Linked DNA regions of Homo sapiens: regions 2, 3 and 4 are each linked to region 1. Evidence: promoter capture Hi-C in 16 types of primary human blood cells and fetal thymus (Javierre and others, 2016). All regions are on one chromosome and are shown on one strand. The core of a region is centred on a gene start or on the middle of the fragment in contact, and the rest is flanking DNA. Distances in the headings are between cores, read along the strand shown.

The links. The method cuts DNA at HindIII sites, captures the fragments that hold promoters and counts their contacts. A CHiCAGO score of 5 or more calls a contact.
Region 2: a contact is called between a fragment that was not itself captured here and the fragment with the promoter of AKAP6 in region 1, in 1 of 17 cell types (naive CD4 T cells). The highest score is 5.2, in naive CD4 T cells.
Region 3: a fragment that was not itself captured here is called in contact with the fragment with the promoter of AKAP6 in region 1 in 1 of 17 cell types (endothelial precursors); the score reaches 6.3 in endothelial precursors.
Region 4: a fragment that was not itself captured here is called in contact with the fragment with the promoter of AKAP6 in region 1 in 1 of 17 cell types (endothelial precursors); the score reaches 5.1 in endothelial precursors.

Annotation. Positions count from the first base shown.
Region 1 is chr14:32,328,012-32,334,802 of GRCh38, forward strand. It overlaps AKAP6 (A-kinase anchoring protein 6), which reads left to right and starts at 1,287. Exons shown (of 14, transcript NM_004274.5): 1 at 1,287-1,397. RefSeq lists an enhancer at 3,252-3,546. The HindIII fragment of the contact is 1,578 bases long and covers 113-1,690 here.
Region 2 is chr14:31,652,544-31,660,254 of GRCh38, forward strand. The region is part of intron 4 of NUBPL (NUBP iron-sulfur cluster assembly factor, mitochondrial); the gene reads left to right. Among named protein-coding and RNA genes, the nearest start is that of NUBPL, 95 kb to the left of the region's middle. RefSeq lists a silencer at 667-867. The HindIII fragment of the contact is 3,782 bases long and covers 1-3,722 here.
Region 3 is chr14:31,474,594-31,482,338 of GRCh38, forward strand. No RefSeq gene overlaps it. Among named protein-coding and RNA genes, the nearest start is that of GPR33, 9.6 kb to the right of the region's middle. The HindIII fragment of the contact is 1,169 bases long and covers 4,328-5,496 here.
Region 4 is chr14:31,523,263-31,530,611 of GRCh38, forward strand. LOC105370438 (a long non-coding RNA gene) reads left to right here. Exons shown (of 4, transcript XR_943723.3): 2 at 2,790-2,914. Among named protein-coding and RNA genes, the nearest start is that of NUBPL-DT, 34 kb to the right of the region's middle. The HindIII fragment of the contact is 1,383 bases long and covers 939-2,321 here.

The DNA of each region.
Region 1 (6,791 bases), core at 37-2,536:
GACACTGCCTGAATTCCTTCTGCCACTCATCCCACACCGCCTATGCTGGTGGTTAACAGTGCCATTTTAAAATCTCAAGCAGGAGGAGACAACATAATTGTCTCATGTTTTAAGCTTTTGGAATGTTGTTCTTTTTCAGAGTTGTGAAGACGGAGTGGATACAGGTCAACTTGATTCTGCTTTTCTCTATCAATGGCCTGCAAATATTAAATATGCAAAACATAGGCTGCTCTGTCCATATCTCCTTCTCCCCAGTTCTCACCACATGACGTTGATTTCTGCTCAGGACTGGAAAGAAGTGATTGCTTTAGATTTGCTTTTCTTTTACCAACTGGAGAAATGCCTTACCGTGTCTTGTTTAAATGTGGCTTTTCACACAGTTCCAGCTTTTGGGGTTGGGGAGGGGCACAAATAATCTGTGTGGTAGGCAGTTTTATTGTTCAGAAAAGAAGAAAACAGACCCCAATGTTTGGAATGCCAACGATTTAGGAAGTTTCTAGCAGGTCTGCTACTTGTTCCAACCACTAGGTTTGATCCCAGAAAAGACTCACATGCGTTTTGGCCATGAGAAGGAGGGGTTCCCTGCAGGCCAAAGGAAGGGTCAGTAGAAGTTGAGGGTGGTGTGTTGTGCCCCTCTAGATTCCAAACTTCCCTTTGCTGCCTATCTGATGACCAGGTGAAAGCTGGGTTTATTCTGCATGGGAAGGTTCTGTGGGTTGGTGTTCATCAGGGAAAATAACCAGGACAGACTTCATTGGCCAAGGGTTTGCCCATGTTTTGAGAATTAAAACTTGTTTACTTGAGAGTTAGAGTCATTTGGTCAGCTGTTTATATTCCATTTTTAATTATTTTTGTGCTCGCTGTTTTGTTCTTTTGGTCTTTGACAGATGAGCAAAAATTCTTTTTAATAACTTTTAAAAAGCTATCCCAGTGCTGACCAGGGAGGAAAAAGTGATCAAATTGTCTAATAAGGAAACATTGTACATTTCAGTTTTTATTTGCTTAGTACTAATTCTATTTTCTCCTCCCACCTTTTTTTTCTAAATGTATAACAACAAAGGGGGAGATAATTTTTGTTTTTTCCAAAATGCTTTCAGGGAAATCCCTTTTAAACCTATGGATTTTAGTCCAATGAGGAATCCTCTTCCTTTGGTCTAAATTTTGCATATCGTCTGTTTCTTACAGGGCTTCCGTATTGTCTCAGGCTCCACTGGAAATGCAGCAAGGATTCCTAGCACATCCCAGTTGCCATAGCAACAGCAGTCTTTCCCATAATGAGCTGCATCATCTGAACTGATGTCACAGCATCATGCAGCAGGTCAAACAAGGCATCTCCTAGTATTGCATCCTACAGATGTGCTGTAAACATCAAAAGAAGACGGTGGGATCAGGAGATGGTGAGTGTTAAATGTCTGGGCCTTAATTGCACGGCTGTTTTGTTGGTTAGTCGGTGTCTGCTAAGGCGGAGATTGGGGGATGTTGTCTCTGCTTAAAATGGACTGGGGAAAGAAGGGCTGTTTTACCTAAATCGTTTTTCAGGCTGCCGGGTTAAGACAAAGGCCTGTAAGAGTCATATAGGAATTAAAATATGTAGAATTATTCTTGCTCCAGCTCTGTCTGTTATTTTTAAGTGTTCTTACAGAATTTTTCATAAACATAAGATGATTTTTCAATTGCAAAACCCCAGATAAGCTTTAAAATGAGTAGTTAACAGTATTTAAGCATTGTAAAAATATAGATTTCTTTTTGGGAGGCAGAGCTAATTGGCCCCCTCTTTGCTCTTGTGAATTATGAAATATTCAGTGATTTGCAGTATGAAATTCATTATTTACCTCGGTTGGGTTTCAGTTTCTTCATGGCAAGGAACAAATGCTGAATAAGCATTTGACATAACCCTGATGTGAAAGGGGATCTCTTGCATATTCAAGACAGAATTTATTAAAAGCATAAAAACCTAAACCAAATGAAATTATTTGAGCCTTTTGATCTATATGGTAGTTCTTCAACCCATGTCCTTCAGAGTTAGTTGAAAGACTGCCACATATTTTTCCATCTCTAGCTAGTCTCTGAAATAGCTGGAGTTGTTTGCAGGCTGACTTGTAACTGAGAAAGGAACAAGTCTCCTCTCTGCGGCAGTTGCAGTGAAGGGTAACCCTGGGAGAGCCTCTGAAGTGGCAGTGGTGTTGCCATCCCTTGCTTAACTTTAACAAAAATCTGGGTATGATGAATAAATATCAGGGTCCTCAGTGGTTGTAGGGATTACAGACCTCTGGACTCAGTCATAACCTCAACTCAATTCCAAAACTCTAAACACGTATCATTTTCATTTCAACTCCTAGCTCTGTTTTTAGGCATCTTTATTATTATTATTATTTTCTAAAAAATTAGTCTGACAGTGTCAGATAAGGAGCAGAATGTTGCCTTTTGTTTTGGGAAATGAAATGGATTTCCCTGGTACAGCTGATTGCTACTAGGGGAGAGAAAGGAGGAGGCACATGTCAGTTCAATTGATCAATATGTCCACTTAGAATCAGGGAGTGGTCTTGTGGCTTAATGCTGCCAAATTGATAGTTTTTACTCAAAAAGTCTTACACGAAAGAATGGCAACCATTGAATTCCTCTTCTTTTAGTCTGTTTATTGGGGCTAAAGAGATATATCATGGAAAGCAGGAAAAGCAATACCTTTAGCTAGCTTGGAGTGATTTTTTTTTTTTTTTTTTTTTTTTTTTTTTGCACAGAGTTAAGTATGCTAGTCCCATTAGGCACCAGCCAGAGGAAAGGCCTCAGGTTTTAATTTGTTTGTTTATACCACATCACGCACATGCTTGCTACTCTCAGTCCTTTAAGCTTATGTTTCTGACATGCAGCTGTATAGGATGGGAGAGGTCAGCTCAGCCTGGCTTTATCGCAAGCACTTAGAAGCATGAATTGTTCATTGCCTGCTTTTTTATGTCATATAATGTGAGCAGAAAGCTCTGCTGGGACTGCTGGGTGTGAACACATCTAAGTCGAAAGCTCTAAGGTGACAGGGAAGAGTGCTAGATGGTGATGGGGGAAGGGAAAGTATGTCTTGTAGCTAGATTATAAATCTGGATAAAATCACTTAGTGCCTTTTAGAATTTTCTTAAAGTATTATTTCTGAAGAAGAGCAATGAAGAAAGACTTGTTTGGTAACATGAATTTCTAGGAGTAAAAAAAAGCAAAAGGCAGCATTGTAATGAGTTTTCTGTTTGCTTAATTCTTGTCTCTTTTGTTTAAAGTGCTCTTCAGCTGCTTCATCATGGTTGATTTGTTCAATTACTGGAAGTCACAAAAGCTAGATTCCTTAAGGGCAGTGTTAGAAAAAGTGGAGTCATGCTTTGAGGGTGGGGAAGGGCGCTGGTGGGTGTGGACTGACGCAGTTATCTAGTGGAACATCCTCCCGGTTCAGACAACCCTGTAATTTTTCCCCCCGCAAATGTTCAAAATGCAATTACAGTTCTCCAACTTTATGCTTTTGTGCTCTTTTTGCTCCAGGAGAACAAAGCCCTGGTAATGAGAGCTATCATCCTAATGTTTTGTTTCTTCGTTTCTTTGTAGAGGGCCACAGCCTGCGCTGCTCTCTGATTAGCTGCATGTCTTAATTACTGGCTAAGGCTATTTCAGTTGTCTTAGTTTTAATATATCCCCAAGGGGTAGATGGTGTGTGTGTGTGTATAGGGGAAGGGAGAGATTTCTCTATGGCTGTATTTATTGGTGCCTCACTGAAACTTTCTACAGTTTAAGGAATTTTGTTTCACAGTAATGATAGATCATCAAGACCATGTTTATTGGACAGAGTTTAGGCCATGGAAGCCTCACAAGAAGTTAATGTCCTCTATACTTTTGGTCATGGCTTTCACAAATACATTACAAAGTTACAAAGAAGTTAATTCTTTGCCGATAACTAGGCCGCATAGGGATGATAAAAATAATAATCATAATAACAATCATAGCTATCATTTATTCAGTTCTTACTGTGTATCAGTACTGAATTAAGTTTTGTGTATATCTTATTTAGCCCTTATTATTATTATGAAGTAGAGAGTAATAATCTCACTTTATAGGATTAGGTGTTATTATTCACATTTTGCAAAAACCAGTCCTTAGCCAGGCGAATAAACTTGGCTAAGGTTATGTAGTTAATAAGTGATTGGGCCAGGATTCCAAACCATTGCGATCTGGCTATGCAGCACACATGCTTACCCACGGCCATCTCAGTTTTATGACATCTTTACTGTATATACCATACAGATCAGTCATCTATACTCTATCACACGTACCCCACCCCTCCTCATTCTAATTGGAAAATCAGATTTCATATGTAGAATGAAATGTCATTTGCAACACTAAGGTTGATTTCACTGTAAGGATGAGCATGAATCTTGATCAGATGTGAATATTTACTTTGTACCCAGAGATTTAAGTAATGAAGAGTTGATGCTTAGACTTTTGCCACTGCCCTTGCTTGATATAACTTTCTAGCAGGATCTCTGTATGGAAAATGTTACATCAATAATTGTGGGCATGATGGAGTTGCACTCAAAGCAGGTCTTACCTGAGTCAGTAATGATTCAGCTTTGTTATAAACCTGTCTTATCAGCTATATTTGTGGTGCTTTGTTAACTTTAAGATGTTTGTATTCCCTGCTGTTGCACCAGGTTCTGTTCTCAACCTGGTGTTGAGAACAGAAGCAGAAACTTCTCTCACAGTCTGGAAAGTGTAATCTGAATCTATCTCTTAGGTTAAGAAGATAGAGGATTTATTTTGCTGAATGTATCAGTGGCTGAAACCAAACTCTGTCTATCTCTGACAAAGTACAAGAATGACAGTCTTGTGTAATAACCTGGAAGCCTTGTGTTTGAGGAGAGCTGATATAGTCATTTCTGTATCATCTTGCTCATCCCCAGCTATCCACGCCCAGCGTCATTATTGGGCTCTAAGGGCTGTTCTTTGTTTGAGTGTGGGGCTAATGCACACACTGACAGCATGTTGATATTGATTCCTGTATGGTGAATACTTAGAAATATTATTCCACAGGGCTCATTAGCCTTTTCTAGGTTCCAGGAAGAAGTTAACCTTTGTCCTAACCTGCTCCAAAGAGGCCCAAGCTTGTGTCTGCATGAGGTACAGGAATGAGAGGCTGATCAGAAAGCATCAAAGCTGCTAGGTACAATGACTACAGGAGTTAGGTTCCAATTAGGAAATAAAATAGCCAGTGGAATTTAGGGAAGTTGGTGGTCTTGCTACATGTCTCTGATTTTCTTCTATTTATAATCCTAGAACCCATGAATGGCAGTTTGTTTTGATCGCATGGATTCAATTCAATTCAATAAATATTTATTGAATATCTCCTATATGCCAGGCATTGTCAGGGAATCTATAGCAATGAGCAAGACAGATGCAAATCTCTTCCCCAGCTACATTCTAGAGGGGAAGGGAAAAATGGGTAAATTGGTAAAATAATTTATTTCCTCTAATACTGCAATACTATTTCTATTTACTTTTTATTCCATGTGTTATTAGAGAAGCCCATTATCTGTGCACATTTGTATAGGTACATATAGCTATATGGTTTATATGTGGAGGTAAACTTACTGCATTAAATAATAACTTTTTTTTTTCTTGCATGGGTTTGGATTAGAATCTTTCTGGATGTGGACAAGACCAATATGGCAATTAGTATTTTTTTGGTATAAACTATTTTGAGAAATAAAATTATAATCAGTCAAATAGTGCATGTCTATCTCAGTTGACAAACTTGACATATGGAAATATGAAATGTGTGTGGCAGATCAGTTAAGGAGAGATATTTTTGTTTTTATAAAAGATATTCATCACCTTTAAAAATTGTCCAGAGAGCCCTCTAAATTGAGCATTCCAGCCAGCCTGCTGATGGAGGTATGTATCATACAAGGTACCAACTACACACTTAGTTGTACAAGGACAGGTATACCAGTTACCTTCAGTCTCATCTAATCGCCCTAGTGTGCCTTACAGTATTGCTTTAAATGGGAAGCATTTCTCGAAACAATCATATTGACTGAACTCTGTAGATGGGCCCTGAGTGTGGTTTTTCAGAGGAATAGCAATCCATATAGGACTTTGGCCATGGCAACAGAGTTTTAGGTACAGTAGCCCCTTCCGCGCCCTTATTTGTGATTTAGCCTTTTGTGGTTATGGTTATCCGTGGTCTGAAAACATTCAATGGAAGATTGCAGAAATAAACAATAAGTTTTAAATTATGCGCTGTTCTGCATAGTGCAGTGAAATCTCTCACCATTACTGTTCTGTCCTGCCTGGGATGTGTATCATTCCTTTGTCCAGCATATCCATGCTGTATATGCTACCAGCTTGTTAAGTCACTTAATAGCCGTCTTGGTTTTCAGATCAACTATCTCGCTATCATAATGCCCATGTTCAAATAACCTTTATTTTACTTAATAATGACTCCAAAGCTCAAGATTAGTGATGCTGGCATATTGTTACAATTGTTCTGTTTTATTATTAGTTATTGTTAATCTCTTATTGTGTCTAATCTATAAATTAAACTTTATCACAGGTATATATGTATAGGAAAAAACATAGTATATGTAGGGTTTGGTGCTATCCATGGTTTCAGGCATCCACTGGGGGTCTTGGAACATATTCCCTGATAATGAGGGGGACTATTGCAGTTTGAATTAATAAGGCATACAGTTTCTTCTCCACGAGCACATACCGGTCAGTAATTGAATTCCTGAGTTGGCTTTAAGATTTGGTGAAGATAAAGG
Region 2 (7,711 bases), core at 582-3,081, 670 kb before region 1:
AATATATATAAATTTTGTCAATTAAAAATGATTAAAAAATAAAGTTGCTTTTTCTTTAAATGATGGCATTTATATAAAGTAATAACATTTCTAATATGTGTGCCCTGATTTTAAAGACATCAATATATAAAAACCAAAATTTATAAAACCATCAAGTTTGTGAGTTGCGTTTTTAAATTATGGAGAGGTTTTCCTTTGTACCAAAGACCCTGTGACAAGGCCAAATCCTATAATTTCCTTCATAGCACTAGTTTTGGTTACAAATTTACATTTATCTAGTGATTGTGTATCGGGGGAACTCACCCCCCATATTTTAACATAGGTTCTTTCTATTTTCCCTACGTGTCAGCCGGTCTGAGAAATAAAGAGAAAGAGTAAAAAAAGAGGAATTTTACAGCTGGGCCTCTGGGGGTGACATCACGTATCAGTAGGACTGTGATGCCCACCTGAGCCGCAAAACCAGCAGGTTTTTATCAAGGACTTCAAAAGGGAAGGGGGTGTACGAACGGGAAGTGGGTCACAAAGATTACATACTTCAAAGGGCAAAAAGAGAACAAAGATCACATGCTTCTGAGGAAACAGGGCAAGGACAAAAGCAAAGATCACAAGGCAAAGGGCAAAATTAGAATTACTGATGAGGTTCTATGGTCAGCTGTGCACGTATTGTCTTGATAAACATCTTAAACAACAGAAAACAGGCTTTGAGAGCAGAGAACTGTTCTGACCTTAAATTCACCAGGGTGGGGTTTTTCCCCACTCTAGTGAGCCTGAGAGTACTGCAGGAGACCAGGGCGTACTTTGGTCCTTATCTCAACTGCATAAGACAGACACTCCCAGAGCAGCCGTTTATAGACCTCCCCCGAGGAATGCAATTCTTTTCCTAGGGTCTTAATATTATATTCCTTGCTAGGAAAAGAATTTAGCGATATCTCTCCTACTTGCAGGTCTGTTTATAGGCTGTCTGCAAGAAGAAAAATATGGCTGTATTCTGCCCGACCCCGCAGGCAGTCAGACCTTATGGTTGTCTTTCCTTGTTCCCTGAAAATCGCTGTTATTCTGTTCTTTTTCAAGATGCACTGATTTCGTATTGTTCAAACGCACATGTTTTACAGTCAATTTGTACAATAGTGGTCCTGAGGTGACGTACATCCTCAGCTTATGAAGATAACAGGATTAAGAGATTAAAGTAAGACAGGCATAAGAAATTATAAGAGCATTATTTGGGAACTGATAAATGTCCAGGAAATCTTCACAATTTATGTTCAGAGGCTGAAGTAAAGACAGGCATAAGATATTATAAGAGTATTATTAGGGAAGTGATAAATGTCCATGAAATCTTCACAATTTGTGTTCCTCTGCTGCGGCTCCAGCTGGTTCCTCTGTTCAGGGTCCCTGACTTCCCACAACAATTGTGTGGTTAGTATCTGTCTCTCCTATTGACTTTGTATTTCATGGGGGAAGATATTATGTCTGTTTTTCTTTGCTACTATAGCACTAACACCAAACTTCATACTTGGTACATACAGGTATATCTCAGAGATGTTGCAGGTCTTGTTCCAGACCACCACAATAAAGCAAGTGTCTCAATAAAGTAAGCAACATGAATTTTTTGGTTTCCCATTGCATATAAAAGTTATGTTTACACTATACTGTAGTCCATGAAGTGTGAAATAGCATTATGTCTAAAAATATGTATGTACCTTAATTAAAAATATTTTATTACTTAAAAATGCTAATGATCATTAGCCTTCAGTGAATGGTAATCTTTTTGCCTTTGGATGGTGTTGCCTGCATGTGAATTGCTGCTGACTGATCAGGGTGGTAGTTGCTGAATGTTGGGTTGGGTATGGCAATTAACTTTTTTTTTTCTTTTTTTTTTTTTTGAGACAGAGTCTCGCTCTGTTGCCCAGGCTGGAGTGCAGTGGCATGATCTCAGCTCACTGCAAGCTCCGCCTCCTGGGTTCATGCCATTCTCCTGCCTCAGCCTCCAGAGTAGCTGGGACTGCAGGCACCCGCCACCACACCTGGCTAATTTTTTCTATTTTTTAGTAGACATGGGGTTTCACAGTGTTAGCCAGGATGGTCTCAATCTCCTGACCTCATGATCTACCCACCTCGGCCTCCCAAAGTGCTGGGATTACAGGTGTGAGCCACTGTGCCTGCCCCGGCTATGGCAATTTCTTCAGACAAAAATGATGTTTGTCACATTGATTGACTCTTCTTTTCATGAATGATTTGTCTATAGCATGTAATGCTGTTTGATAGCAGTTACCCACAGTAGAACTTCTTTCAAAATTGGAGTCAATTCTCTCAAGCCCTGTCACTGCTTTATCAATTAAGTTTATATAACATTCTAAACTTTTTGTTGTCATTTCAACAAAGTTCACAGCATCTTCACAGAGTAGATTCCATCTCAAGAAAGTACTTTCTTTGCTTATCATAAAAAGCAACTCCTTATCTGTTTGTTTTACCATGAGATTGCAGCAATTAAGTCCCATCTTCAGGCTCCATTTCTAATTCTAGTCTCAGTGTCATCCATGAGGGTTGGAATCAACTTCTTCCTAACTCCTGTTCATTTTGATACTTTGATCCCCTCCAATGAATCATGAATGTTCTTAATGACATCTAGAATAATGAATCCTTTCCAGGAGATTTTCAATTGATAGATCCGTTAGAGGAATTACTATCTATGGCAGCTTTAGCCTTATGAAGTGTATTTCTGTAATAATAAGACTTGAAAGTCAAAATTACTTCTTGATCCACAGGCTGCAGAATGGATGTTTTGTTAGCAGGCATGAAGACAACATTCATCTGATTGCACATCTCCATCAGAGCTCTTGGGTGTCCAGGTGCATTGTCAATGAGCAGTAATATTTTGAAAGGAATTGGCCGGGCATGGTGGCTCACACCTGTAATCCTAGCACTTTGGGAGGCTGATGCGGGTGGATTGCCTGAGTTCAGGAGTTTGAGACCAGCCTGGGCAACATGGCAAAACCCCGTCTCTACTGAAAATACAAAAATTAGCAAGGCATGGCAGAGAGCATCTGTAGTCTCAGCTACTTTGGGTGCTGAGGCAGGAGGATCACTTGAACCCAGGAGGTTGAGGCTGCAGTGAGCCGAGATGGTACCACTGCACTCTAGCCTGGGTGACAAAAAGGTTTCAACAGTGGGCTTAAAATATTAGTAAGCCATGCTGTGCTGTCAGCCAGGCTTTATTTTTCCATTTATAGAGCACAGGCAGAGTAGATTTAGCATAATTTTTGAGAGCCCTTGTATTTTCAAAATGGTCAGTGAATATTGGATTCAACTTAAAGTTACCAGCTGCATTAGCCCCTATTAAGAGAGTAAACCTATTATTTGAAGCCAAGCATTAACTTTTTTCCCCTAGCTGTGAAAGTCCTGGTATCTTCTTCCATTTCATCTACATTGAAGATCTGTTGTTTAGCTACTTCCTTCCATTATCTTAGCTAGATCTTCTGGATAACTTGCTACACCTTCTACATCAGCACTTGCTTCTTCACCTTGTACTTTTATGTTATAGAGATGGCTTTTTTTTTCTTAAACCTCATGAACCAATATCTGCTACCTTCCAACTTTTCTTCTGTATCTTCCTCACCTCTCTCAGCTTTAATAGAATTGAAGAGAGTTAGGGCCATATTCTAGATTACATTCTGGGTTAAGAGAATGTTGTGGCTGGTTTGATCTTCTATCCAGACCAATAAAGCTTTCTCTGTCTCAGTGATAGGGCTGTTTTGCTTTCTTTTTATTTATGTGTTCATGGGAGTAGCACTTTTAGTTTCTTACAAGAACTTTTCCTTTGCATTCACAACTTGGCTGTTTGGTTCAAGAGGCCTAGCTCTTGGCCTATCTTGGTTTTTGACACAATTTCCTTACCAAGCATAATCATGTGTATCTTTTCATTTAAAGTGAGAAACATATAACTTTTTATTTCACTTAAACACTTAGAAGCCATGATAGCATTATTAATTGGCCTGATTTCAATATTGTTGTCTGAAGGAATAGGGAGGCCTGAGGAGAGAGAGAGAGAGATAGGGGGATGGGCTGGTCAGTCGAGCAGTCAGAACACACACACAACATATATTGAATAGGTTTGCATCTTATGTGGGTGCAGTTCATGGTGCCCCACAACAATTACAGTAGTAACATCAAATATCACCATGATAGACATACTAATAATAAAAAAGTGTGAAATATTGTCAGAATTGCCAAAATGTGACATATAGAAATGAAGTGAGCACATGCTATTGGAAAAATGGCACCAATAGACTTGCTCAATGTAGGGTTGCACAAACCTTTGATTTGTAAAAAATGCAGTAACTGCAAAGTACAATAAGGCAAAGCAAAATAAAACAAAAGTATGCCTGTAGAAGGCACTCAATAAATATGTTGAATGAGTGAGTGAGGAGAAAGAATTGTCTTATGTAGTAAGCCTTTAAAATCAAATTCCTTTTTAAAGAAATGTAATTTTTATGCAGTCTTTTTTAGCGGTACAGCTATTATATAAATTGATAATTGCCTAAATATTAAATGGCACAGAATGAAATCTTTAATGTAGTCACTGTTCTAGAAATACTTCAAATGTAGCCAGTAACCAAAATCACCAGACCCCCAACATCCAAAGTTTTATTACCTGTGTGGGCAGCCTCCAATTTAATGTGGTATGGCAGTCATTGATGACTGTGCTTTTTATTACTTCTTTACTATGATTTCTTATCTATATACTCTGATATATGGGCCATTCATATAAGCTTTCAAATCTCTAGTGTAACTAAATGGGTAATATAGTAAGGCTTTTATTATCTAAACAATGTTTATTGAAAAGAGTTTGCCTCTAAGTATTTGTAAGTATATTATCTTTCAAAACAAATTCGGTTTATATAAGTCTTATAGCCACAATGTTATAAAGGCCACACCGAAGCCAGTGTCTTGTCTTTGGCTGTACCTCTATTTATTTTCTATTTTTGTCCTTCATTGGGTCTTTTTATGCAGGCAGTCATAATTTGGTCTTTTTAAAATGTTTAATACAGGTTAAAGCCTTAAACAGGTTTTTTCTTGCTTCATAATATACACATGAACAGGCATTTTGGTCACTATAACAAGTGTAATTTTGTGTTTAGCCCTTGTTATAGATATCTTTTTCTTATCTCAGTATGTCATTCATATTTTTCTAACTTGCTGCTCAACACTCTTCTTTTTTACTACTCATGGGTATGTATTGCTAGTGAGTTTTAAATTCCAGCTCTTGAATTCCTTGTACTTGTAGCTTACTATTGCTACTTAAAAATGCTACTTCAAAAACTTGAGAATTTGCTACTTCAAAAACTTGAGAATTTTAGAAGTCAGAACTAATAGAAGAAAAAGAGTCTTATACATCATATGAATTTGATAAGGCTGGAAATGTCCCCTATAAACAGAAAGATTGAGAATAACAGAAATCTACCTAAAAGATATGTCAGAACAAACAAAAAAATTCAACTACTGTTTAAAAGATGATTCATATTAATTACAGAGTAACTTGATATATCAGAACACTGTTAAATCATTCCAGGGAAATTGTCTGGGCATCTTCAAGCAATAGAAAGAAACCTGTTTTCATATTAGCTAACCTTTCAACTGTGTGTTATCTATTAATCTCATGTATGTTGGAGTAACTGTAAACCTCCTGCTTCTTGGATATGTATGTGAAAAGAATATGGCACTTAATGAAGAAACAGGCCTTAACTGAAATACTTAATGTTTCTGTTGCTAGCTTTTTAACTTTGGGCAGGTTAGTTTAATATTCTGATCTTCGGCTATTCCATATGCAGTATGTCATATAAAGACTTCATTTGCCATATGAAGACAGTTTGCCCAAGGTCACAGATAGTGACTAATTTATGATAATAAATAATATTTCACTGCACTAAAAATGGCTGATGATCAAATATAGGTTATGGAAGTTTTCTTTAATAGCTTTTTTTTTTTTTGAAAGGGAGTCTCACTCTGTCACCCAGGCTGGAGTGCAGTGACGTGATTTCAGCTCACTGCAGCCTCCACCTTCTGGGTTCAAGTGATTCTCCCACCTCAGCCTCCTGAGTAGCTGGGACTTCAGGCACGCGCTACCATGCCGGCTAATCTTTGTATTTTTAGTAGGGACGGGGTTTCACCATGTTGGCCAGGATGGTCTTAAACTCCTGACCTCAAGTGATCCACCTGCCTCGGCCTCCCAAAGTGCTGGGATTACAGGTGTGCGCCACTGTGCCTCCTTTAATAGCTATTTACTGTGGACTCTTTAGCTGTTTACAGAATTGTTTTGGACATTATATGAACATGTTTATGAGCACTTACTTTACTAATCAAGGGGAATATAGTATTTAGATGGTGAGGCAGGATAAAGGCATAAAAAGATAAATAATCATAGAGGATAACATTTATTAAGTGTCAGATGCTAAAGGAGATTAGAAGAGGGAATAGTTATGGAGAGCTGTTTTGGAGGCTGCCATGGAAGAAAGGGATTACATAAGCTGAGAGAAGGCTGAGGATAACCTTGACTTTCCCCAACTGTAAAATGGAGATATTACTTGCCCCATAAGGCTGTTGTAAGGATTCAGTGAAATAAAATATCTAAAGTGTCTAAAATAAATGTAGTGCTTTGTGACTATGTGATGTAACTGCTACTACTGGTTTTTGTTTTTTGGACTGAATATAAGTGGTTCTTTCTGTCATCTTTAAAATTTTTCTCTCCCAGATGCCTGACAACTTGGAGATGACATATAGTTTTCATCTTAAATACCAACTGACTACCTGGGACATAATGTTGAAAAGATTCTCAGACTCTACCTGGTTTTAGTAGGGAAGAATGCTATGATCAATTACTGGTGACAAGGCACATATAAAATAGGCTGGAGGCAGGAAATGGTTGTGTATGGGTTGCTGGAGTAACAGTATGTAAACTGTGTTTATTATCTTTACTTTAAGTCCTAGTATGTCTTATTTGTTTCTAGCCTTCCTTTTACTACATCCTGTAAAACTTTCTAATATAAGATGGCAAGTTTTAGAAGTGAGATACCAAGTTTATATCTGTACTCAGTGAATTAGCCCCGGAGTAGAAAAGAATCTGATGTATCACCCCTGCTCCAAAATATCCCTTATGCATTCTTTCCCATTTATATTCTAGTGAGCTAATAGTTTCTGTTTAAAAAATACTTAGATTTTCTGAAAAGCTGAAGTTCTCAATGTGATCTACTTGAGCCAGATGATTTTCCTAATGCAGTCTGTCCACATGAGAAAATGAGAGTTTTGATTGTGGAAAGGATGAATTGGAAAAGAGGGGCATTTTTTTAAAACTGAAAAATAGATTGGATTAAAGGAAAGATATGCCTGAATGGCTTTCAGCTTTTAGATGGTAGGATGCCTGAGATGGGCATAGTAGGGTTCCAAGATGGTACAAAAGAGAAAAGTATGCTGAAGATAAATGGAATTTTAATATTAAGAGTAATAGAAGCCATAACATTACAAAAACATGATTTTCTTCATAGTCTTATTTTCTGCTCCTTTCTCAAATTTTCTGCTTCCTCCCTCATTTCCACTTTTAGATACAGCATTATTTTATTGCCTTTTGGTTGTCCAGGTTGATGGCTCAAGTTTTGAGTTTTGACCCATTCCACTTTCTAGTCTTTACTTACCTTCTCTCTTTAAACCCCTCTTCTTT
Region 3 (7,745 bases), core at 3,662-6,161, 850 kb before region 1:
ATCACTGAAAAATTCTTTAGGTTAAATTCACTGGACATATTTTAGTCATCTCTCTTAACCAATCTGTACACCCTACATCTTGAAATGTTGTGTTTCCTGACAGGAGACTTAGTTTTCCTTCTCTCTTTTCCATATGCTCCTTCTGAAGTTCCTGTCATGGGATCACCTCTGTGCTTGCCTCTAAACATCAGTGTTCCAGCCTCAGCCTTGAGTGCTCACTGTACACACTCACCTGAGGCTATGACTCTACTCCCATGGCTTTAGTTACTGTTCATTCGTTCATCTATTCAATACTTTTTTTTTTTTTGAGATCGAGTCTCAGTCTCTCACCCAGGCTGGAGTGCAGTGGCGCAATGTTGGCTCACTGCAACCTCCTCCTCCCAGGTTCAGGTGATTCTCCTGCCTCAGCTTCCCAAGTAGCCCGCCACTATGCCCGGCTAATTTTTTTATTTATTTTTTATTTTTAGTGGAGACGGGGTTTCACCGTGTTGGCCAGGCTGGTCTCGAACTCCTGATCTTAGGTGATAGTCCATTTTAATGTCTCTCAGGCATGAGAAATAAAAATAGAATTCTAAGTCTCCAACCTGACTGAACAGACCCCCTCTCGGCAAAGGGGACCCCAGAGAAACCTTGAAAACTCTCGGTCGTGATGGGATGGGAGGTCAGACATACCTTGCTGTACTCCCTCCCACGCTAACTGCCATTAGGCTTTCTTCCCTTAGGACTAAACAGAAACTAGTCCTTTCAAAAGACTCCACCCTTGATTTCAACCAAAGGCCTGAACACTGCCTCTCTTGCAGTTTCAACAAAACAACCAACCAGCATTTCTTCCTTATGAGAGATCACCGACCATGGAGTGGTTTGGCCAGTCTATGGAGAATGCACAGTGAGGGCTTTTGTGTCCTCTGCTTCACTTTTTGACATCAGGAGGCCTAAAACTCCACTTTCAGATAACGCTAATGCCGCCATTTTTGGAACATGGGTCCCATAAAGAAGCATGAAGCTCAATTACACATGCACATATTTATCCTCTCATAAATATTCAGGACTCCTTCTATAGCTTATTGAATACTGTATATTTAGCTACCCTTTTCAGCATAAATTCCTGTCTTATTCTTCTAACCTTTAAAGTGCCTGTTTCTGGCTTCTGGCTGGAGGTTATGCTTCAAAGCCTGTCACAATGATCACCCTGCAGGCTGCAATTTTTTATGAGAAATAAAGTTCTTCTTTCCAAATTTATGAGCCTTGTCATTCTTCAGTTGACAGGCACCTGAAACTTAGTATGTCTGTATTAGTCTGTTTTCACACTGCTATAAAAACATACCTGAGACTGGGTAATTTATAATGGAAAGAGATTTAATTAGCTCACTGTTGGAAGGCGAGACAGGCACTTTCTTCACAAGGCAGCAGGAGAGAGAAAAGCATGCAAGAGCAAGGAAAACTGCCTTATAAAACCATCAGACTTTGTGAGAACTCACTATCGTGAGACGAGCATGGGGGAAACCACCCCCATAATCGAATCATTTCCCTTCCTCAACACATGGGGATTACAATTCGAGATGAGATTTGGATGGGGACACAGAGCCAAACCATATCAATGTCCAAGACTGAACTTCTTTACCTGCTCCTTCCTTCCTCTTTTTCTTTCTTTCTTTCTTTTTCTTGCTTTCTTTCTTGCTTTTGTTCTTTCTTTCCTTTCTTCTTTCCTTTCCTTTTTTCTTTCCCTCCCTCCCTTCCTTTCTTCCTTCCTTCCTCCTTCCTTCCTTTCTCTTTCTTTCTTTCCTTTCTTCTTTCTTTTCCTTTTTTCTTTCCCTCCCTCCCTCCCTTCCTTCCTTCCTTCCTCTTTCTTCTTTCCTTCTTCCTTCCTTCTTCCTTATTTCTGTAAATGGAAACCACGAGCTGTCTCCGAATACAGAAATGTATGCATTTGTCATATTCTATCCATCATCTTTTGAATGGCTTTTATATTTGGGGAAATTCCTACATTTTGAGTAACCCCTTCTCACTCATGTAGAAATCAGAACTTAAATTCCCCAGCCTCATTTGCAGCTAGGATACAGGCATGCTGACTAGATATCCTTGTGCAAGACTAAATTTGGAAGTGAGCAATGTGAATAAGCAAGCTCTGCATGAGATTTCTGTCCTGTTGTCAGAGCTTTCAGGCACAGAGTGGTTCAAGACCTAATGCAGAAATGGTATCAGCGGCAGTAGCAGTTTTAGTAAAGCCAAATTGCTGATATTTTGGGCTCAACAGCAGCAGCAGCAACATTTGGTATCATTTACTGAAATACGGAACACCAGTGACAAATTCCTGATTTGGGTAGTTTTGTGGCATGTTTTGGGCATGGTTTCTGAGAGCTGCTCCTTGAATGTTTCTCCAACTATCCTAATAATTCTGTGAGTTACTTAATGTCTTTTAATAAATCAGTTTTTGCTTAAATCAGCCAGAATGAAATCTACTGTTTGCAACAAAGAACACTAATTGACAGAGGAATTGTCCTCAACTTCCCCTTCAACCAACAGAATTTACAGAACTCGACTTTTCTTGATCCTTACTTACACTTTTTTAGTAGGCCACATCATCTGTTACTTAGATTACTTTGGCACTGTCCTATTTGGCCACCCACCTCTAGTTTTGACCTCTCTACTGTAGTAGACAGAGCAATCTATCTTTCTAAAATGCAAATCTCAACCTATCACTCTTAGGTTTAAGGTCTTTCAGTGGCTTCCAAATGCCCTCAAGATAAAGTCTAGGATCAAGTCCAAATTCCTTCTTATAGGCTCTCAGGATCTAGTCCTGGTTGACTTTTCCAGCTCATGTTTCCAGCCTGCTTCTCACACTTAATGTTGCAATTATGTTTTTTGGCTTGTGCTGGACCAGCAGCAACAGGATCCCTTGGGATCCTGTTAGAAATGCAGAATCTGGGCCGGGTGCAGTGGCTCACGCCTGTAATCTCAGCACTTTGGGAGGCCGAGGCGGGCAGATCAGGAGGTCAGGAAATCGAGATCATCCTGGGTGAAAGCCCGTCTCTACTAAAAATACAAAAAATTAGCTGGGCGTGGTGGCGGGTGCCTGTAGTCCCACCTACTCGGGAGGCTGAGGCAGGAGAATGGCGTGAGCCCAGGAGGCGGAGCTTGCAGTGAGCCGAGATCACGCCACTGCACTCCAGTCTGGGTAACATAGCAAGACTCGGTCTCAGAAAAAGAAAAAAAAAAGACATGCAGAATCTGGCCTGGAGTGGTGGCTCACGCCTGTAATCCCAGCACTTTGGGAGGCTGAGGCAGGTGGGTCATGAGGTCTGGAATTCAAGACCAGCCTGGCCAAGATGGTGAAACCCCGTCTCTACTAAAAATACAAAAATTAGCCGGGTGTGGTGGCAGGCACCTGTAATCCCAGCTACCTGGGAGGCTGAGGCAGAAAATTGCTTGAACCTGGGAGGCGGAGCTTGCAGTGAGCCTAGATCACACCACTGCCCTCCAGCCTGGGCGACAGAGCAAGACTCTGTCTCAAAAAAAAAAAAAAGAGAAATGCAGAATCTGACTTACTGAAGTTAGATTTACTCCAGGTTTACTGAATCAAATCAACATTTAACAAGATTATTAGGTGATTCATTTGCATATTGAGGTTTGGGTAGTGCTGCTTTATAGCAATGTCTTCTCTTTCCCTCCAGGGCTCTTACACATTCTGCTTCCTCTCTTTGAAGGAACTATCCTCCTCTTCTTTATATGCCTAACACTGTTCTGCAGGACTCAGGCCCTTATCCAGGAAAACTTTTTTGACTGGTGAAGGCAGGAATTACCATTTTACTCCTTTTTCTTTCCTACTAAACTGGAGTTTTCTAACCTAATTGTACTTTAGACTTAATCTGAGAATAAAAAATATACTGGCCGGGTACGGTGGATCACACCGTAGTCCCAGCATTTTGGGAGGCCAATGTGGGTGGATTGCTTGAGGTCAGGAGTTCGAGACCAGCCTGGCCAACATGACAAAAGCCTGTCTCTACTAAAAATACAAAAATTAGCTGGGCGTGGCAGCACACGCCTGTAATCCCAGCTACTATGGAGGCTGAGGCACGAGAATTGCTTGAACCCAGGAGGCAGAGGTTGCAGTGAGCCAAGATCATGTCAATGCACCTCAGCCTGGGTGACAGTGAGACTGTTTCAAGAAACAAACAAACAAACAAACAAAGATACTGGTTCCTGCGTCCTGCTTCTAGAGATTTTAGTTTTAATTGGTTTGGATAAGGCCTTGAAACTGACATTTTAAAAAAGTATCCCAGATGATTACAATGTGGAGCCAAATTCAGAACCACTGCACTAGACTTCAAGCTTCTTTAGGACAGGGATTGTGTCAGATTCACTCTTGTTTCCCCAGTGCCTATCACAGTGCCAGGTACATATACTATACTGGTAAATGATTGTTTCCCCTAATTTCTCAGGGATATGGAATCAGATTTGTGTTGTACACAGCATTCTATCTTATACCCTAACCCCTCTCACACACGTTAGCATCTGAGCATCCTTCTCATCAAAACAAAGAGCTACTTCTTGAGGAAAGAACTTACACTGGCATTTAAAATGCATCTCTAATCATCCTTGTATTTTGTTCTTAAACCAGTTTGATACTGATATAGTGAAGCTGCTTTATATAATCGAGTGCTGACAGGCACATTGTTTTGAAACAGTGTCTCTTTGTACCAGTTCCACAGAGCAAAACCACCAACTCTTTGTTTATAAACCTTTTGAGTCCTGAGAATTCAAAATAGTGAGGAGGTTGATGAGATCAACGCAATTATAATGAGTAGATTTTTAAAAAATTAACCAGTTTTCTGTGAGGTTAAAAATGCATTTGGGAATAATTTTCTTAATTATACCCTATTTTCTTACATTTAAATTGACTTTAAAAAAACTCTTAATATCTTATATTTATACAGTGCTTTACATGTTGTAATTGTGCAAACTCAACTTTTATTAAATATCTTTTATTATCAATTGTGTATAATATTATAGAAATGAAATGCTATAGTTGATAGAATTCTTTCTGTCCCTGAGTTGTTTACAATTTATAGAAAGATGGAACAAAATACTTCAAAAAGCCCTGACCTAGGTCTCATGAAAAAGACAATTTAAAGCGTACATAGATAGCTGTAAGGAATGACAACATATGGCTTACAAATACCACAAAATCCACGCTTTCCAGGGCATGTTCCTTGTTTATTATTGTAGCAGGCCTGAGGAGGTAGACAAAAGGCACTCTCTGTAGCTGCTAGATTTCCAAAATCCAAATCTTGTTTCAAAGAATCCTATGTTGCATTCAATAATTTTCTTTCTTAAATCCTGCATCATAAAACTAAAACTTCAGTGGGCTTGTCAGGACCTGGGATAGTGTGGGGTGGAAAAAAGCACCATCCATTTCTCATTGCAGCTGTAGTCGGAGCCACAGCCTGGTCATCAATTCATATCTCCCTTTCCGAAAAAGAAAAAAAAAACTGTTCAAGCTTCAAAACCTTGAAATAGGGTCAGCAATTAAAGTTTTCATCTACCCAAAGCTTTTGTCATTCCAAGTAAGAGAGACCAAGCCCCCAATTGCCCAGGGGAGCCCTGATACCACGTCAATTAGCAGGATTTCTAGGACACCAAACTACTGTTACTTTCTCTATAAAAAGTTAGTCATGAAGATTAATTTTCTTCTTTCTGTATCTCCTTGTAATTCATATCATACGTTTTGGGGATTTCTGCGTAGGCTATATGCTTGCGGTTTGGAATGCTTTGTACAAAGCATGCTGGTGTATTCAGGGACTGAGTGTGGGATGTGACCCAAATATCTCCATGTTGTATCAGTTGAACTAACTAGATAGTTCAGTTGATTTAGAATTGACAGGACTACCTATTGATTGACATGTATTGATTGATTGATAGAATTAACTAAATACAAAGACAATAGGTGAGTGATATTATGTGGTTCTACATAACTTAGGTGCAGTCACTTAGTACACAAAGCTTGAAACATAACCTGAAAATCAGAGAACACAAATTAATATTGTTATTGCATTTATAAAATTAAGTCTATGACAACAGGCAGATTCTTGAACATTATTTTAGCCCCAAATTTTGGAGATAGCTTACTCTATAAATATTAGAAAAAGACAGTTAAGATGCCTTAATAATTAAAACACTAAAGTAGAAGTGTCTTTATGCTTTAACATGGATGTAACAAGATGAGTGCCTTGTGGCCGGGCGCGGTGGCTCATGCCTGTAATTCCAGTACTTTGGGAGGCCAAGGTGGGCGGATCACGAGGTCAGAAGATCAAGACCATCCTGGCTAACATGGTGAAACCCCGTCTCTACTAAAAATACAAAAAAATTAGCCAGGTATGGTGATGGGCGCCTGTAGTCCCAGCTACTCGAGAGGCTGAGGCAGGAGAATGGCGTGAACCCGGGAGACGGAGCTTGCAGTGAGCCGAGATCATGCCACTGCACTCCAGCCTGGGCAACAGAGCGAGACTCCGTCTCAAAAAAAAAAAAAAAAAAAAAAGAGATAAGTGCCTTGTCACTTCCATGTTAAGTTTTATTCATACCAGTTAAATAATTTAGATGTTACTAAATAATGAGGGAGCTCTGTCCAAATGTCTGTCAGAAGATTCTGTGACAGAAAATTCAAATCCTTGGATACTATTGATCAATTTGGCAACTGATATTCCTAGCTTCAAAAATCAAAAGTTTTAGCTGGACATGGTGGTGTGTGCCTGTAGTCCCAGGTACTCCAGAGGCTGAGGCAAGAAGATTGATTCAACCTACCAGAATGACTACACTATAATTAAAAAAAGGAAAATAACAAGTGTTGGCACAGATGTGGGGAAACTAAAACGTTTATACATTGCTGGTGGGAATGTAACATGGTGCAAATTGAAAAGCTTTATGATTTCTCAAAAAGTTAAACATAAAATTACCATTTGAACCGGTAATTCCACTCTTAGGTATATACCTACAATAATTGAAAACAAGGACTGACACAAATACTTATATACAAATGTTAATAGTAGCTTTATTCACAATAATAGTAGCTTTATTGACAATAGTCAAAAGGTGGAAACAACACAACAGATGGCTGGATTTAAAAATTATGTTATATACATACAATAAAATATAATTCAGCTGTAAAAAGAGAATGAAGTTCTGATACTGCAACAACACAGATGAACCTTGAAAACATTTTGCTGAGTGAAGTAAGTCAGACACAAAAGGGTAAATACTGTATAATTTCACATATATGAAACATCTAGAATAGGCAAATTCATAGAGACAGAAAGTAGACTGGAGATTATTAGGGACCAGGGGGAGGAGGAATAGGGAGTTACTACTTAATGGGCACAGAGTTTGTCCTTGGAATGATGAAAAATTTTGGAAATAGATGGTGGTGATGGTTGTACAATTTCGTGAATATAATTAATGCCACTGAAATGTTCACTAAAAATGGTGAAAATGGTAAATCTTATGTTACACATATTTTTCCACAATAAAAAATGAGTCGAAATAATCATAGGTCCAGCACAGTGGCTCATGCCTATAACCCCAACACTTTGGGAGGTTGAGGCAGGCGGATCACTTGGCACCAGGAGTTTGGGACCAGACGGGCCAATATGGGCAAAATCCCATCTCTACTAAAAATATAATTAGCTGGGCATGGCTGGGTGTGGTGGCTCACGCCTGTAATCCCAGCAGTTTTGGAGGCCGAGGTGGGCAGA
Region 4 (7,349 bases), core at 380-2,879, 800 kb before region 1:
ACCGGGGATGTGTGAGGACAGTGGATGGGACAGCATAGAAAGGGATTTTAAGAAGTGTTGATGTGAACTGTGTGCTTTCTTCTTGGTGTTCGGACAACACAAGTAAAGGACTTGCTTTATTTTTGAACTCCTGTTTGTTCTTGGACTGTGTGCCTTTGATGATGCCATTCTGGGATAGAACTATAAGGGTCACAGGTACATGAGCTTTATATTTATTTAGTAAATATCTGTGAAAGGAAGGAGAAGAAAAGAGAGCTAAAGAGAGAAGACAATGAGGGCTGGATGAAGGAAGAAAGAAATGAAGGGAGTACATTAATGTCAGATATCATAGAGGAGATATGTGAATCTAAACCATATACTTCCATTTCCATTTAGAAACCAATATGGTTCATCTGAATTATTATTAATTTTCTCTGAAATTGGTGAGATTTCCAATTAGATATAAGGAGCTGGGTGAGTTTCAAGTGAGAATAAAAAGCACTGGGACAAGCTCATTTTGCATTAAGAAATTCAGCTGATCTTTTATTACAAATAAAATGAACACTGAATAGTAATTTTCATTAAAGAATGAAAGCATTTAACTACTTACAAATACTTCAATTATTAGTTTTCAAAATGTATTTTATAGTAGAGATCAATACTTTTTGTCCAAGGAAATTACCCGCTTAAAATCTAGTATTTTTATATAGAAACATCATTCCTGGGATAAATTAAAAACTATTTTTTTCTAAATAATATACATGGATGTTGAGACTAATGTGGTATGCTATATTGGAAATATCTTCACAAACTTTAAAATAGAACATAAAAAATATTCAAAGGGCAAACGAAATAAAATAAATTTCAGGAATGAATCTGTTTTTAAGGTCATGTATAACTACTATTATTACATAATATAATTCTGAATAAATAAATCGTGTGTGCATGAACAAGCTAGAAGCTTATTTTAAGGGTTTCTTGAGGCTTTCTCACATTTAAAAAAGTCAGGCTATTGATTATAGAATCATAGCATTTTAGAACAGAAAAGGGCCTTGGAGATGGCCTTGTTCAACCCTTTCATTTTACAGGTGACTAAAGTATGTTATTTGGGTAGCAGCAAACTAAAAAGTCTTCAACGATGGTTCTCTATTGCGGTAACAACCACTCTGGCCTAACTATTCCTTCACCAGATCACTGCAACTCAACTGCAGGAACACAGAAAGAACAAAAGCGACAACATCAAGCCTCCGGGTTTGCTGGAATTCATTAATGACATCCCTTCCTGCTGAGCTAACAAAACCTTGAACCAGCAAGCAGTTGTCTTCTTAAATTGAGCTTGCCAACTGTGTTATAATGGTGGATTTAGAGACACTAGGTGACTCCACTTGAGCAGTTGTGGTGGCCAGAGAAGAATTATTCTTATCCTCATGAAACGTAGCCCAAACAATCATTACCAGTTGGTTCTAGGGAACTGCTTTTAGTGAGACTATTGTTGTCAGTATTGTTGAGTTGGGGTAAAAAGAAATAAGGTTACAGGGATGATAGTTTGAGGCCAAATTTTCAAGAATCTTATGTGATGTTAAAGATTTTGAAGATTGTCCTAAAGACATTTGGGAGTTACTGCAGTTTTTTTAAAAGGGAGTGATATGATAAAACACTATTTAGGGTAATTCAACTGGAGATGAAGTAGACAGATTAGAATTGGGATACTCTGGGAGGATAGAAGGTACAACAGAACAAGCAGGTGTGCCCCACTGAATCATCTATACATTTAGAAAGGTAAGACATATGTTTATCTCATAAAACAAATGAGTGGGCCGGGTGCAGTGGCTCACACCTGTAATCCCAGCACTTTGGGAGGCAGAGGTGGGTGGATCACTGGAGGTTGGGAGTTCGAGACCACCCTGGTCAACATGGTGAAACCCCGTCTCTACTAAAAATACAAAAATTAGCTGGGCATGGTGGCAGACTCCTGTAATCCCAGCTACTCAGTAGGCTGAGGCAGGAGAATCGCTTGAACCCGGGAGACTGGGGTTGCAGTGAGCGGAAATCATGCCACTGCACTCCAGCCTGGGCGCCAGAATGAGACACTGTCTCAAAAAGCAAGCAAACAAAAACCAAATGAGTGAAGATAGTTCTATGAGCAAAGCAGCTTTTAAATACCTGCTAAAGTGTGATTTCCCTTGTGAATTTTCTTATGTCCCTGTATTAGTCAGTCCTCGCATTGCTATAAAGAAATGCCAGAGACTGGGTAATTTATAAGAAAAGACATTTAATTGGCTCATGGTTCTGCAGGCTGTAGAGGAAGCATAGTGGCATCTGCTTCTGGGGAGGCCTCAGGAAGCTTCTAATCACAGTAGAAGGCAAAGTGGAGCAGGTATGTCACATGGTGAAAGCAGGAACAAGGGAACAAGGTGGGAGATGCTACACACATTTAAACAACCACATCTCATGAGAACTCACTATCATGAGGACAGTATCAAGGAGGATGGTGCTAAACCATTCATGAGAAATCTGCTCCTATGATCCAATCACCCCCCACCAGGCCCCACTTTCAACACTGGAGATTACATTTCAATATGAAATTTGGATGGGCACACAAAAATAAGCTATATCAGCCCTCTTCCCGACTCCACCACTGTAATTAATCAAGCAATATTGCAATGATTAATTTACATGTCTCTCTAGTTTACCAGTAATAAGCTCTTTGAAGGTAGGCATAGTCTTATTCCTCTTTGTATATCTACCACCCCATAAATATTACATAGATTGTTTTGAATTGAATATATTGTTATTGTTTGGTCTTGTAGGTCCTCATCATCAATCTCTAAATGAAGTTACTTGAAGCAATTCTTGAAACCATAATAATAATGTCTCCAGAATTGGTGGATTCTTGGTCTCACTGACTTCAAGAATGAAGCCACGGACCCTCGCGGTGAGTGTTACAGTTCTTAAAAGCGGCGTGTCCGGAGTTTGTTCCTTCTGATGTTCGGACATGTTCAGAGTTTCTTCCTTCTGGTGGGTTCGCGGTCTCACTGGCTTCCGGAGTGAAGCTGCAGACCTTCTCCCTGAGTGTTACAACTCTTAAGGCGGTGGCACATCTGAAGTTGTTCATTCCTCCTGGGGGTTCGTGGTCTCGCTGGCCTCAGGAGTGAAGCTGCAGACCTTCACCATGAGTGTTACAACTCATAAAGGCGGGGAGGACCCAAAGAGTGAAGAGCAGCAAGATTTATTGCAAAGAGGGAAAGAACAAAGCTCCCACACTGTGAAAGAGGACCCGAATACATTCCCATTGCTGGCTCCAGCAGCCTGCTTTCATTCCCTTATCTGGCCCCACCCACATCCTGCTGAATGGTCCATTTTACAGAGAGCTGATTGTCTGTTTTACAGAGAGCTGATTGGTCTGTTTTGACAGGGTGCTGATTGGTGCATTTACAATCCCTGAGCTAGACACAAAAGTTCTCCAAGTCCCCACTAGATTAGCTAGACACAGAGCACTGATTGGTGCATTCACAAACCCTGAGCTAGACACAGGGTGCTGATTGGTGCATTTACAAACCTTGGGCTAGACACAGAGTACTGATTGGTGCGTTTACAATCCCTGAGGTAAACAGAAATGTTCGCCAAGTCCCCACCAGATTAGCCAGATACAGAGTGCTGATTGGTGCATTCACAAACCTTGAGCTAGACACAGAGTGCTGATTGGTGTATTTACAATCCCTTAGCTAGACATAAAGGTTCTCCAAGTCCCCACTACACTCAGGAGCCCAGCTGGCTTCACCTAGTGGATCCTGCCCTGGGGCCACAGGCGGAGCTGCCGGCCAGTATCGGCATGCACCCGCACTCCTCAGCCCTTGGGGGTTTGATGGGACGGGGCGCTGCAGTGCAGATGGTGGCGCCCATTGGGGAGGCTTGGGCCGCACAGGAGCCCATGGCGGGGAGCCGGGGGGAAGGCTCAGGCATGGCAGGCTGCAGGTCCCAAGCCCTGCCCCACAGGGAGGCAGCAAAGGTCCAGCGAGAATTCGAGTGCACCACGGGCGGGCCGGCACTGCTGGGGGACCCGGCGCACCCTCCAAGCTGCTGGCCCAGTTACTGAGCCCTTACTGCCGGAGGCTGGCGGCGCCGGCCGGCTGCTCCGAGTGCGGGGCCGCCGAGCCCACGCCCACCCGGAGCTCGCGCTGGCCCGCAAGCACCGCGTGCAGCCCCGGTTCCCGCCTGCGCCTCTCCCACCAAACCTCCACGCAAGCTGAGGGAGCCGGCTCAGGCTTTGGCCAGCACAGAAAGGGGCTCCCACAGTGCAGTGGCGGGCTGAAGGGCTCCTGAAGCGTGACCAGAGTGGGCGCTGACGCCGAGGAGGCGCCTAGAGCGAGCGAGGGCTGCCAGTACACTGTCACCTCTAAATAAGATAAACATTTGAAGAGTGCCTTTAATGTTCAAGGAATTGTGAAAGACACAAAGTTGAACATGACATGGTATCTGCTTTGGAGAGGCTCATAGCTAAAGAAGTGTATTGGTTTGCTAGGGCTGCTGTAACAAAATACCACAGACTGGGTGGCTTAAATGACCACACAGAAATTTATTTCCTCACAGTTCTGGAGGCTGGAAGTCCAAGACCAAGGTGCTAGCTGGATTGGTTTCTTCTAAGGGCTCTCTTCCTGGCTTGCAGGTGGCCACCTTCTCACTGTGTCCTCCTGTGGCCTTTCCTCCGTGCATATGCCTCCCCGTTATCTCCTTGTATGTCCAGATTTCCTCTTCTTATAAGAAGCAGTAAGATTGAATTAGGGCCCACCCTAAAGGGCCCACCCTAGTGGCCTCATTTTAACTTAATCACTTCTTCAAAGGCTCTATCTCCAATTGCAGTCACATCCTGAGTTTCTGGGGGTTAGGGCTTCAACATACGAATTTGCCGGGGGGACACAATTGAGCTTATAAAAGGAAGGAGACTATAATAAACAGTTTAATACCAATCAGCTTTGATGGGAGGCATCTGGGAAATAAATAGTTCAGAACAGTAAACTTTGCAGCAGAAACTGGAGATGAAAGTTTGAGACTTTAATGGAATTTAATAATCAATGCATTCTCTTGAAGTCATTTTACAAAAATCAATATAAATTTTCAAATACCTTATTTGGAAAGCCACTGTGTAACTGGGCCAGATGGTCTGACATGAACTATACTCATTTATAGTCTTTTAAGGTAAAATGTCCTCCATGGGTATACAGTGTAGTAGTTTACTGGCACTGATTTTGGAATTACATTGTTCCGGTTTGAGCCATGGTTCTGACAGGTCCTGGTCTCTGTCGTTTATCCTCAGGCAAATGGCTTATTCTCACTAAGTTTCTTTCCTTGTCTGTAAAATAGGGGTAATTCTAGTTCCTATTTCATAGGGTGGTTATGAGGATTACATTAACATATAGGCTTTGTACATAGTAAATGGTCAATAAATTGTAGCTCTGTTCACAGGCTGTTAGTGGCTTGAATTCCTCAGACAGATTCTTTATTAAACATAATTATTCTTTCTGCTCACCCCTGAGGCTTAACCCAGTTTTTCATGCAGTATTATTTATTTATTTATTATTTATTTATTTATTATTTATTTCTGTTGCCCAGGCTGGAGTGCAGTGGGGCCACTGTACTCACTGCAGCCTTGAATTCCTGAACTAAAGGGACCCTGTCCCCTCAGCCTCCTGAAATGCTGGGATTACAGGCATGAGCCACTGTGCGTGGCCTCCAGTGCTATTTTATTAATCTTAAGAGATGTATCCGTGACAGTTCTAACTTGAGAACCTTAGATAGAGATAGTATAACATAAATTCAAAGCATTACTATAGATTATGGTAAATTTTAATGGTTCTCATGAAAACAATAAGGATTTCTTTATCAATCTGAGAGAAATTCTGTTGGGAAGGTATTATAGCATTAACCACTCTGTACTGTACTGTGTATATGTTTGCCTCCTTGGTTAGACTGTGAATTCTTAGAGAAAAGAAAACATGCCATGTTTATCTTTGCACTGTGATGCAACGATGGTGTAGTGGTTAAGAGCATGGTCTTTGGAGCCAGCCTTCTTAGGTTGATACCCTGGTCTATATCCAGACTTTTGGGATTCATACTTTACTTGTTTGTGTGTCCTTGGGCAAGATACTTAACCACTTGAGAACTCACTCACCTGTGAAGTAGAAATAGTAATGATGTCTACATACTTCATAAAAACTTCTATGAGGACTAAATGAACTAGTATATGTAAAGCTTAAAATAGTACTTGGTATGTAGCAAGCATTCAGTAGATTTTCACCATCATTAGTATAGCACATAGCTTAGCTGTGCTTAATAAACATGTGTTAAGTGAATGAATAACACGGATTCTGAGTAGTAAGAAGTTGGTGGCTCAGTGCTAGCTGGCATTCTATAGCTAAGCATGCAACCAAAATCGTATAATGAAGGACCACTGTCAGGGAACAGTGGCTTATGATAATAATGTGCTAGCAAAACCTGGAGGTAAGTTTCCTGTAACTTTGTAGAATGTGTGCTAATGCTGATGAGTCCAACACTGTGCCACACATTTTCCAGCAAATAATGAATACTTTTTGAGGGGGAAAAATCCCTGGGAAAATAAAATAGCTTCAGGAAGCCATGAAACTCTTGCTTTATTTTTGACTTGGCATAGAAGGTGGGGCACATACCTTGTTCTGAACCGAAGAAAGTGTAGTGAAAATATTATTTCATATTTCTCTTTTGTCTTTGGTATAGCAGAGTCTTCTGGTGCCCATACAATACTCCTTCTCTCTTTTTCCTTGCCAACAGTCGTGATTTTATATCCACCCCTCACCTTCCTGTTACAGATAAATCCTGATTTGTCTAAGTCAATTGTGGACACAGACACAACTCCAAACACACACACACACACGTGCATGTGCATGAGTGCACGCGAGTCTGATTTAGGAAGGAGCATAAGACACAATTCTGGCCAAAGAAAAATGAGGATAAATCTGTGATGAGGGCTTCTGGAAAAGATTTTCTTACTCTTAAAAAGAGACACGCAGGAGGAGGCAACCTCATTTTCTGCTGCACATTGCCACGTCAGGATGAAACGTTTGGAATTGTGACAGCATCTTGTAAGTATGAGGGGGAGCTAGCTATCAAAATGTAAACAAATTTTCTCTTTAGAATCAGTGAGATTTAATCTACGACAGAAATTTAAGCTTAGGTGTGAAATGACTTTCTCTATGTCTCCTATGAAGTTTGTGGTTATCTCATTATTACATTCTAGATTTCTACACTTTCCATCTAGTGCATTCAAATATGTTGACAATTTTTAGAGTTACAACTATGTACTGTTGCTTACTTTATATCTGTGATTTTTGATCCTT